Regions from separate parts of the Homo sapiens genome. Here region 1 is linked to region 2. Evidence: promoter capture Hi-C in human tissues and cell types (Jung and others, 2019). All regions are on one chromosome and are shown on one strand. The core of a region is centred on a gene start or on the middle of the fragment in contact, and the rest is flanking DNA. Distances in the headings are between cores, read along the strand shown.

Region 1 (4,500 bases), core at 1,955-4,454, 55 kb before region 2:
CATTGAAATTGCAATTTAAGGGACAAGTAAGATTTCATCAAGCAGAGAAAACAACATGAATAAATGCTATGAAGGAAAGATATGTTATTGAAATCTAAGGGATTTAGGAGTACAGAGACCAAAGATGAAACTAGAAAGATTGGTCAGGGCCAATGATTTCTAGAGATGTGCAATAAAATATAGTAGACACAAGCCACATTTGGCTATTTAAGTTCAAATTACATTAAATTAAAATATTCATCAGTTGCAGTAGCTGCATTTCTCGGATCCATAGCCACATGTCACTTGTGGCTACCACATTGGACAGCACAGATATGGGATATATCCATCATTGCAGTAAGTTCTAATGAACTAGACTGCTGTAATGTTTTAAGTTTGTTTATATTTTGGGTTTGGTTTTTAATTCACCTTAAATCCTCTAATGGACGAAGAGGGAAGAGATGAAGAAGTATAAAGCAGTGGAAGCTGTCAATAGGCCAGTTACAATTTGGTGGCAGGAGAATGAGTCAGAAGCGCACTGTCTATTTCCAAAGAAAACCATTTCTTGCCAGACAATATCATTGCCACTGAAGACCCAATACTGCTCCTTATCAAACTCTGGGTCAGCTCAGATTCTTCACCATTTGACAGGAAAATTCTAGGCAAAGAAATGGACATGGGGTGGGGGATGAAAACAAGGAACTACAATGGAAGAACAGTGGTAAAGAAATAAATATTTACTTTTTTCCGTATGATTTAAAAAAAAACAAGAATAGAAACATTACATTCAGTGTGAAAAAACGCAATCTCTTAATATACATGTCTTTCTGTTCCTTTTCCTCTTTCACCTTTAAAAGGCCTTCTATCGATTGATGACTATTAGGTCTTCCCAGCTCTCCATGAGACTGGTACCTAGGCCAGCAATCCTCTGCTATGTAGAGTCAACTTAGAATCACACACACACACGCACACACACACACACACACACACACACAAAATATGTTCAAGCTATCTGTAGCCTCTGTTCCTCAGTAGGGCCACTGTTCTCAAGTTCCTCTCTGCCTGCCTTCTCAGATAAGGTAGGCCTGACATTGTGGAACCTTCATGTCCCCTTTATCCCTTTCCCTTAAAAATCAAAAACAGGTCCTAAATGATTACCTTTTTCTTTCTTTGCTCTGAACCTTGTTCAGTCCCCCCTTATCCAGCAGCTCTCAAAGAATCAGTAGTTCTTTTAGAGTCCATGATGCCAAGATAATTTTTGCCATATTACTAAGACATTGATACTCTTTGGATCTATGTCCCCACTTAAATCTCATGTCGAATTGTAATTCCTAATGTTGGATGTGGGGCCTGATGGGAGGTGGTTGGATTATGGTGGTAGATTTCTCATGAATGGTTTAGCACATCTCCACATCTCTCTTCCTCCTGATCCGGCTGTGAAAGACATGCCTACTTCCCCTTCACCTTCCACCATGATTGTGAATTTTGTGAGCCCTTCCCAGAAGCTGCCATGTTTCCTGTACAGCCTGCAGAACCATGAGCCGATTAAACCTCTTTTCTTTATAAATTACCGAGTCTCAGGTATTTCTTTATAGCAGTGCGAGAACGGACTAATACAAATGTCATTTGCCCTCTTCACTCTTTTTCTTTCACATGTGTATAAGGTATTTTCCTGAAGCCACATGATGTCTAATAATTCCATTGTTCTGATGGTTAATGAAATATGTGTTTCTGTGTTCTGGGTTTTCCAGAACTTTGTAAGGTTGTAGGTTTAGGATATAAACACATATGCTTCCAGAGGTTAGCTCAGTTTGTTCTCGGGATTTCTACTGAGATTTTGCCAGCTACTTCCATTTATACCATCTATAATCTGATATGTGTTATCTCCTTCTGTCCAATAAGCTGTTACTTTAAAATCCCCAAGTTTTCCTCATACCTATGCAGAAGCACAAGAAAAAGGTGAATATACTTTCTGTATTCTTTTGCAAAATTATTTTTCAATTTTTAAGACTTTTCTATTTTATCTAAAACATTATTTTAGGACTTAATAGAATTTTATTCTAAAATAAATAAAAATGCATTTAAAATATGCTTTTCTTGCATTTTTTAGGCTACATTGTTGGCTTAAAGGGAGAAATTAGAGACTTACTTTTTCAACTCACAGCTGCATTATCTAGCTCTAAAATGCTAATAAAGATAATATTGACATATCAGAGTCCTTTGACTCATGAAAGGGAAGAAACTGCCCCAAACTGGGCAAAACTGTAAATAAGAAATAAAAATAAGCAAAAGTTATCTTTTCCTTGGTTTTATAGATAATAATTTACCAGGTGTGTCTTATGTAACAGAATATTGTTGAATGGTATTTTGGTGTCAGTTAAGGTGTGGTATCATTTTGATATTCAGCAGCTAAAGCATTGGCTGAGAAGTGGATATAATAACTGAGATGTTACTAAAGCATCCACATTTGACATCTGCCAACTGCCTACTAGACGAAAAGTCTGTTAACAAAATCATGACACTGCCACTTTCAAAAAACACGTAACTTGATGAATTAAAAATGTGTCTGTAAACAGAAAAACTGAGTTAGTATCTCCTCTGCACAACTGCACTTTTGTTTACAATTCAGTGAGCCTATAGATATGGCTAAACTTGTTGTTTTGCTTGAATTTGTCTGGTATCAGCAACAACTAATGATCAAAGAAGATGTTTTATGTAAGTGCCTGGCAACAAACACAGTGGTACTGACATATTCAAAGTGCTTAATAACTTTTAAAAATCTCATGTTTTATCCTGGACCAACAATGTTGACATTTGCACTGATAGTGGCACAGGAATGGTAGATAAAATTGCTGTTCACTTAGCATAAATCAAGGAAGTGACATCAAACTCTACCAGTGGCCATATTCTTCAACACCACATACTAGCACGGAGGAAAAATGCCAATTTATCTTGAGAATGTCCTTCATAAAGCAGGAAAAAGTAGTAATGTTATTATATTTTAATCTTTGAGTACATGTCTTTTTAATATTCGGTGTAACTAAGTGGGAAATAGGAATAAAGCTTTTCTGCTACACACCTACATCCAATGATTGTCTCAAGAAAAAGCACTGATGTGATTAAACTATGAGCTAAACTACCCGATTTTTTAATGCAGCAACATTTTTTACTTGGAAGAATGACTAGTCATAATACTATGGTTATTTAGATTCGTGCATTTAGCAGACATTTTCTTGAAAATGAACAAAGTGAATCTGTCACTTAAAGAGAAACAATCAGCATTTGTTGCCAATGATAAAGTTTGAGCTTTCAAAAGAAACAAGAATATTAGAAAACTTGTATCCACTGTTATGAGCTTGATAGCTTTCCAATACTTAGTGACTTTTCTGATGAGGTTAGCAATTAATGAATGTGACTTTTAAAAATAAAACCAATTAACATTTGGAAGATTCGCATGACTCGATGAGCTAATATCTTCCAAATCACCAATGCAGGAAAATTATAAAATCATGCATGAATGAAGATATATTCAAAGTGGAAGATAGACCAATATATCTCAATTTCACAGAGCACATAAAGTTCATTGATATGGTTTCATATTCTGCATTGCACCAACCTTTTAAAAATCTCCACTTGTTGAGCTTTGACATATCAAAGAACAGTAATGTTATCTGAAAAGGCAATTAAAATACTCCCTTTTCCAACTACATATCTGTATAAAGTTTCTGCCAAATATACTTTAACCAAAATAGTACATTCCAACAGACTGAATGTATGAGCAAATATAAAAACGCTATTGTCTTCTGTTAAGACACACACATAAAAGAGATTTGCAAGAATAAAACAATGCAACTCTACCCAATAAATATCTTGTTCTGAAAAATACAGTTCTTTTTAATTAAAATATGTAATTTAACATACAACAGTATATTGTTGTTACTATTAAGGAAACTAATAAGTATTTGAATTTTTATCTATTTTAATATCTGCCTTAGTAAACACCAATAAATATGATACACATTTTAAATACCACTTAAGATTCCTTAATAATTTTTATGGCGTGAAAGGACCTACACCAAAAACTTTGAGAGCTGCTACTTGTAGCTATCAACAGTCAACAGTATCTTTGAAGCTAAATGCATCTTGTCCTTAAGGAAGACTTAAGGAAGTCTTACCACCAAAAAGAGAAAGAAGAGAGAGAAAATGATCATTGTGCCTTTTGACATGCTCCCCAGATTCTCAAAAGAGTGTCCTCCTCTGGCTGGCCTCGATTTGGTATCGCTTTACTTCTTTCCACAGAAGCACCACCTGCTGCCACCCACTCACCACCTCTAATCCTGTGATAACGGAAAGAGAGAATGGAGAGGAAAGGAGTGAGGGTAACTTTTATTGCCTCTGCTCTGAGTGTTGGGCATTGTTCTATTTCCTCCCAACCCATTTTTCACTCCTATAAGGATCCTTTATTGGGGACACTAGTGAAGGGCATCGGTGTGACTTACTGGACAAGGCTGGCAAGCCTAG
Region 2 (4,897 bases), core at 733-3,232:
CTAAATTCTTAAAAAGCAACAACAGCAGTTTACATCTTTCCCCACTGATCTTTCCCTCAAGAGCTTTCCCCCCATCTCCAGCCAGTGCTGCCTGAGCCTGTGTCTTACTATATGAGGTCCTGACATCCCGAACCTTTAGGAAGTATGACTGTGGCTGGTCATCTTCCCAACTCACCTGTAAGTACCTTCAGGACAAGAATAATGAACTTACCTTCTTCTCTATGTCTTCTCATTTATCCTCCCACATTGTCCCCTAGCACTCAGCCCAGAAGGTTCTAAAGAAATACCAATACTGCCTGTTAATATAAATTAAAATGTATTCTTGTTATATAATGTAAATCTGAAAATTCCCTTCCTTTCTTTTAGATATTTCCTGTATCCTTTATTCCTTCTATTCCTTTTTCTAGCAAACTTTCATACTTACCAAACAACCCTATTTTGTGAGGGATAGGCTATCATCACCCAGAACCGTCCGCCGCCCCCCCCCCCCCGCCCCCCACCACCCTATCACCCCACAACATACACAGAGCTGACACTTGGTTTAGTTTGTGGTTAACAGGGGTGGCACTCTTTCTTCAACTTTTGTTTGAAGGTTTTAGGATGCAAAGTAAAGCCACTGGCCCCATTTCTCTGCAAGATTATCCTGCCCAAATCTGTATGAATCACCAGTGGCCATTTCTCATCTACTTCCCCAAAATTATTAAAGGTTTTATTGTATAATACCTTCACCACCTTCCTACCCTAAGAAGTCCTCTTCTGGCTCATTAACCTCCTTCACATGTTGGGGACAAACCTCAGCATTGCCTACAACTCACTTATAAGAAAATATAAGTTTCTATACCAGGCATGATTTGTGATTGCAGTGCAATTTTCCTATTAAGTCTAGAGCTTATCATTCTTCTCTCCTACACATTCTGGTCTTTCTCTACCCCTTCTTTCCATTCTGCCCCCTTTTTTCCTACCCCTCTCCCCAAGAAATGAACTGGTTTCCATTCAGCAGGTTTAGTCTTGCTTTGGCCAGCTTATTGTTTCAAAGTGGTTATAAAGTTGCTGGGCTTGAACACAGATTATTAATTTTCAGGCATTCATGATGTCTCCCTGTTGAGTGTGGTATGTGCAGGTGTGCACATGTGTACCTGGGGTAACTAACACTCCTGGACTATGCAATTTTGCTGGTGACTGAAAAGATGAAGTCAAAGTTGATTTGATTATTGAAGAATCACATTATTTTAGAGGTATACAGAATGTCAGAGTCCAACTTTGGCGTTTTACAGATGGGAAAACGAGGTGGGGCAAGGTAAAAAGACTTAGCCAGAGTCATAGGTTGATCAGTAGGGGGACTAAGGCTTCAGCTCTGAGCTGTCATATCTCAGTCCCCCAAGGCTTTTCCACTCACATAAATTCCCCCTCAAGGGCTCAAATGTGTGAGTGAGAACCCAGGATGTCCACATACAAACAAAAATGCATCATAGACATGTGAACATGTACACACAGAGAAGATAGGGAGTTATTGCATTTGTAGCCTACAAAACAGAACCGAGAATGTGCTGTTAAAATTAGAGTAAAACTGCTGTAAGCAGGTTAAGTTCTCATCTAAAGAGATCACATTTCCCCACCATACCCCTGCTATCCATTTCCCCCAAGTGGCTCATTAGAAAAAAAGATGGCTAGATTTCAAAAAGCAACTTGGAGAGATTTCTATAGGATTTTTCTTTAGTTCAATCAATACAGAGTTATCTCTTACTTCCACGAAAATAGCTTTTTCACACATCTCTGCACACACAGTCACACACACATATAAAACATTGGCAGCAGGTACTTTTAATTTGCTGGAAAATATTTCTAAGAAGTCAAAAAGCTCCAGCTGAATTGCATGCCCTCTTATTGGCTCACCAGACCAGTTGAGGGACCTGATTGGTCCTTGATCCTGAGGACCGATAAGAACGGCTATAAAATCCCTGGGTGCAGCTCTTGGGCCCCCAGTTTGCAAAAGCCAGAGGTGCAAGAAGCAGCGACTGCAGCAGCAGCAGCAGCAGCGGCGGTGGCAGCAGCAGCAGCAGCGGCGGCAGCAGCAGCAGCAGCGGAGGCACCGGTGGCAGCAGCAGCATCACCAGCAACAACAACAAAAAAAAATCCTCATCAAATCCTCACCTAAGCTTTCAGTGTATCCAGATCCACATCTTCACTCAAGCCAGGAGAGGGAAAGAGGAAAGGGGGGCAGGAAAAAAAAAAAACCCAACAACTTAGCGGAAACTTCTCAGAGAATGCTCCAAAACTCAGCAGTGCTTCTGGTGCTGGTGATCAGTGCTTCTGCAACCCATGAGGCGGAGCAGAATGACTCTGTGAGCCCCAGGAAATCCCGAGTGGCGGCTCAAAACTCAGGTAAGCAGCAAACCCAAGAGCGGTTTCTCCCCCAAAGAGCTGTCCTCATTTGCCTCTCCCTTTTGCAACTGTGTCTGTGACGGCTGATCTTGATAATAAATGTGCTTCATGCCTGATGGCAATAAACTGCCAGTGTAATCCAATAGCCTTAGGCAGTGGAGCTCCTTTGTTTAATAAATTGCATGCAACTAAACGAAGAAGCTGGACGCTCTGCTGAGGGTATTTCATTGCATAAGCCTAGCCTGATTGCCTGAAATCTGGCACGTACCCTCTTGGAGGGGGAGGGGTGAGAGGGGAGGAAAGGCTTGAATGTTGGCATGCTTCAAAGCGCTCTCTATACTTTCCAGAAGCTGATCTAAGGTAAGACCTGGCTTGTTTGATGCTGTCCCTCTTCCTTTCCTCTTAAGACTCTACCTCTTCACTTCTTGACTTCTCTACCTAAGAGAATACACAGAAAAGCTCCCTCTTCAGACTGATTTTCAGAACCATAGCCCTCAAGTCTGACAAATCCAGGGCGGATTCAGAGAAAACCCTATACATCCCACCCCCAACCCTGCTGCCTGTCTCCCTCCTGGCTCTGTAGGGCTCCATTCAGTCGTCCCTGCAGCCCGTAGCCAGAGAGCCCCTAGAAAAAAAAAATTGTGAAACGTAGCAGCTGTTTCTCCAAGGGTAAGGTCTCACTTTCGTCTTGACTCTTGGAGCAGTTAATTGTGCATTATCTTGGCTTCTGAAGGAAAAGAATCATTAGGAAGCCTGCATTGACACCTCTGCCTCTTGACTTCTCTGGCTCCACTTGTTCCCCTTCCAATACTGCCCTCTGTCCTCCAACTGTCAGCAAAGACCGGATCACAGGTGTCAAAATGCTGCAGATGATGATCCCCTTGGAAGAGCACAGGTCCCTGCCGAGAGGAGGGCTTTTGCTTCACTTCCTTTTGTACTTAGTTGCTATAGAGATGCAGTGATTCACAATTCGAGCTTGCCTAAAACAATAGCAGCCCTAATGCATATTAAAACTGCTTAAAGCAAAGTTATAATTTAAACCCGTGGAAATATATAATTAGGGAAATGACTTGTAACATCCTAGAGGCTGCGGGTGGTGGGAGGGGGTGGGGAAGACTAACTGAACCATGCTTTTGATCTCAGAGGAGAATCCTATGGCATGAAGGCTGCAGATCATTCCTTGCCTAGCTGCCTGCCAGAACACCCCCCTTCTGTGGGAGAAAAATTACTTTTATGGGAGATCTTATCCAGAATGTAGAAAGCCTCATGCAAGTTTTTTGCGGTTTTCTTCCAGTCTTGCATAGGGAGGCCTTGGCCTGGTTATTCCACACCTGTGTTTCTTCTTTCTTTCTTTCTTTCTTTCTTTCTTTTTTAAAAGGCTTTTAATATGAAAGAGATTATGCATACCTCTAAGCACTGTCCTAGTGGAGGGTTGGGGTGAAACATGAACGGATCAGATTTCTTTTTGCCAATATGACGGTAAGTTAAAAGCCTGAAATCAGAAGGGTCTCCAAGTGGACTCCTGGCACAGTCTTCTCTGCCATTTAGACTAAAATCCCATGCTTTTTACTCGGGAGTGCATTTTTCCAAAGCTAGATGGATTCCCTGGCCCTTTTACCTCTTAAACCTGACCACTAGCCACTGTCTCCTTCCTTCCCATGCTTTCAAGTGCTAAGCAATGACCTTTGATTCTATGGAATGGCTTAAAGGCACTGTGCATTTCCAGACTTGAGCCTCACTTCTCCAGACACCAAAATTGTAGGTAATGGTGAAACAGGGAGCGTGTGTCTGAAACAGAGAACTCCCTCCCTGTCCATCATGTACTCCAGCAATCATAAACAAAAGGAGCCTGTCTATCCTCTCTTTCTCAATCAAATGGGTCTATCAATTGCCCCTCATGACAGATTCCTAGGATAAGTTCTTCTGACCTCATGTCCTTGAAATTCACCTCTGCACCCACTTGATCCCACCCAGCCATTCCTCACTGTTTGACCCAGAATGGATGGATTTGTCTCTTTCAGCTGAAGTGGTTCGTTGCCTCAACAGTGCTCTACAGGTCGGCTGCGGGGCTTTTGCATGCCTGGAAAACTCCACCTGTGACACAGATGGGATGTATGACATCTGTAAATCCTTCTTGTACAGCGCTGCTAAATTTGACACTCAGGTAATAAAACCTTGACCCCTGCTCCCACTGGCTGCTTGTCTTTAACAGTGTGTTAGACCATGGTTCTTAGGAACCAGTCTTGTAGGGAACCAGCCCTGCTTCTCAGCTTCCCCACTCTAAATTCCCATCTCAGCATGTGTATGCACAAGTGTGTGCATGCACACACACACACACACACACACACAGAGGCACTCATCTGGCCAGGAAATAGGTTCTGTATAAGACACGCCCCACTCACTCTAATGCATGATTCTAAGGAGCTAGTAGAGGCTGTCTTATAAGGCCAGGGGTAATAAGCCAAAAAGATTTTCCTCTGTAAGAGGACATAAAAACGTGCATAGAGCAAGGAAG

What was found. Contacts are between HindIII fragments. The study calls those that stand out against the background at their distance.
Region 1: a fragment that was not itself captured here is called in contact with the fragment with the promoter of STC1 in region 2 in 1 of the 25 tissues and cell types used here (H1 embryonic stem cells).

The regions. Positions count from the first base shown.
Region 1 is chr8:23,908,992-23,913,491 of GRCh38, reverse strand. No RefSeq gene overlaps it. Among named protein-coding and RNA genes, the nearest start is that of STC1, 56 kb to the right of the region's middle. The HindIII fragment of the contact is 5,108 bases long and covers 651-4,500 here.
Region 2 is chr8:23,851,891-23,856,787 of GRCh38, reverse strand. STC1 (stanniocalcin 1) reads left to right here and starts at 1,982. Exons shown (of 4, transcript NM_003155.3): 1 at 1,982-2,382; 2 at 4,404-4,546. The coding sequence starts at 2,265. The HindIII fragment of the contact is 6,962 bases long and covers 1-3,974 here.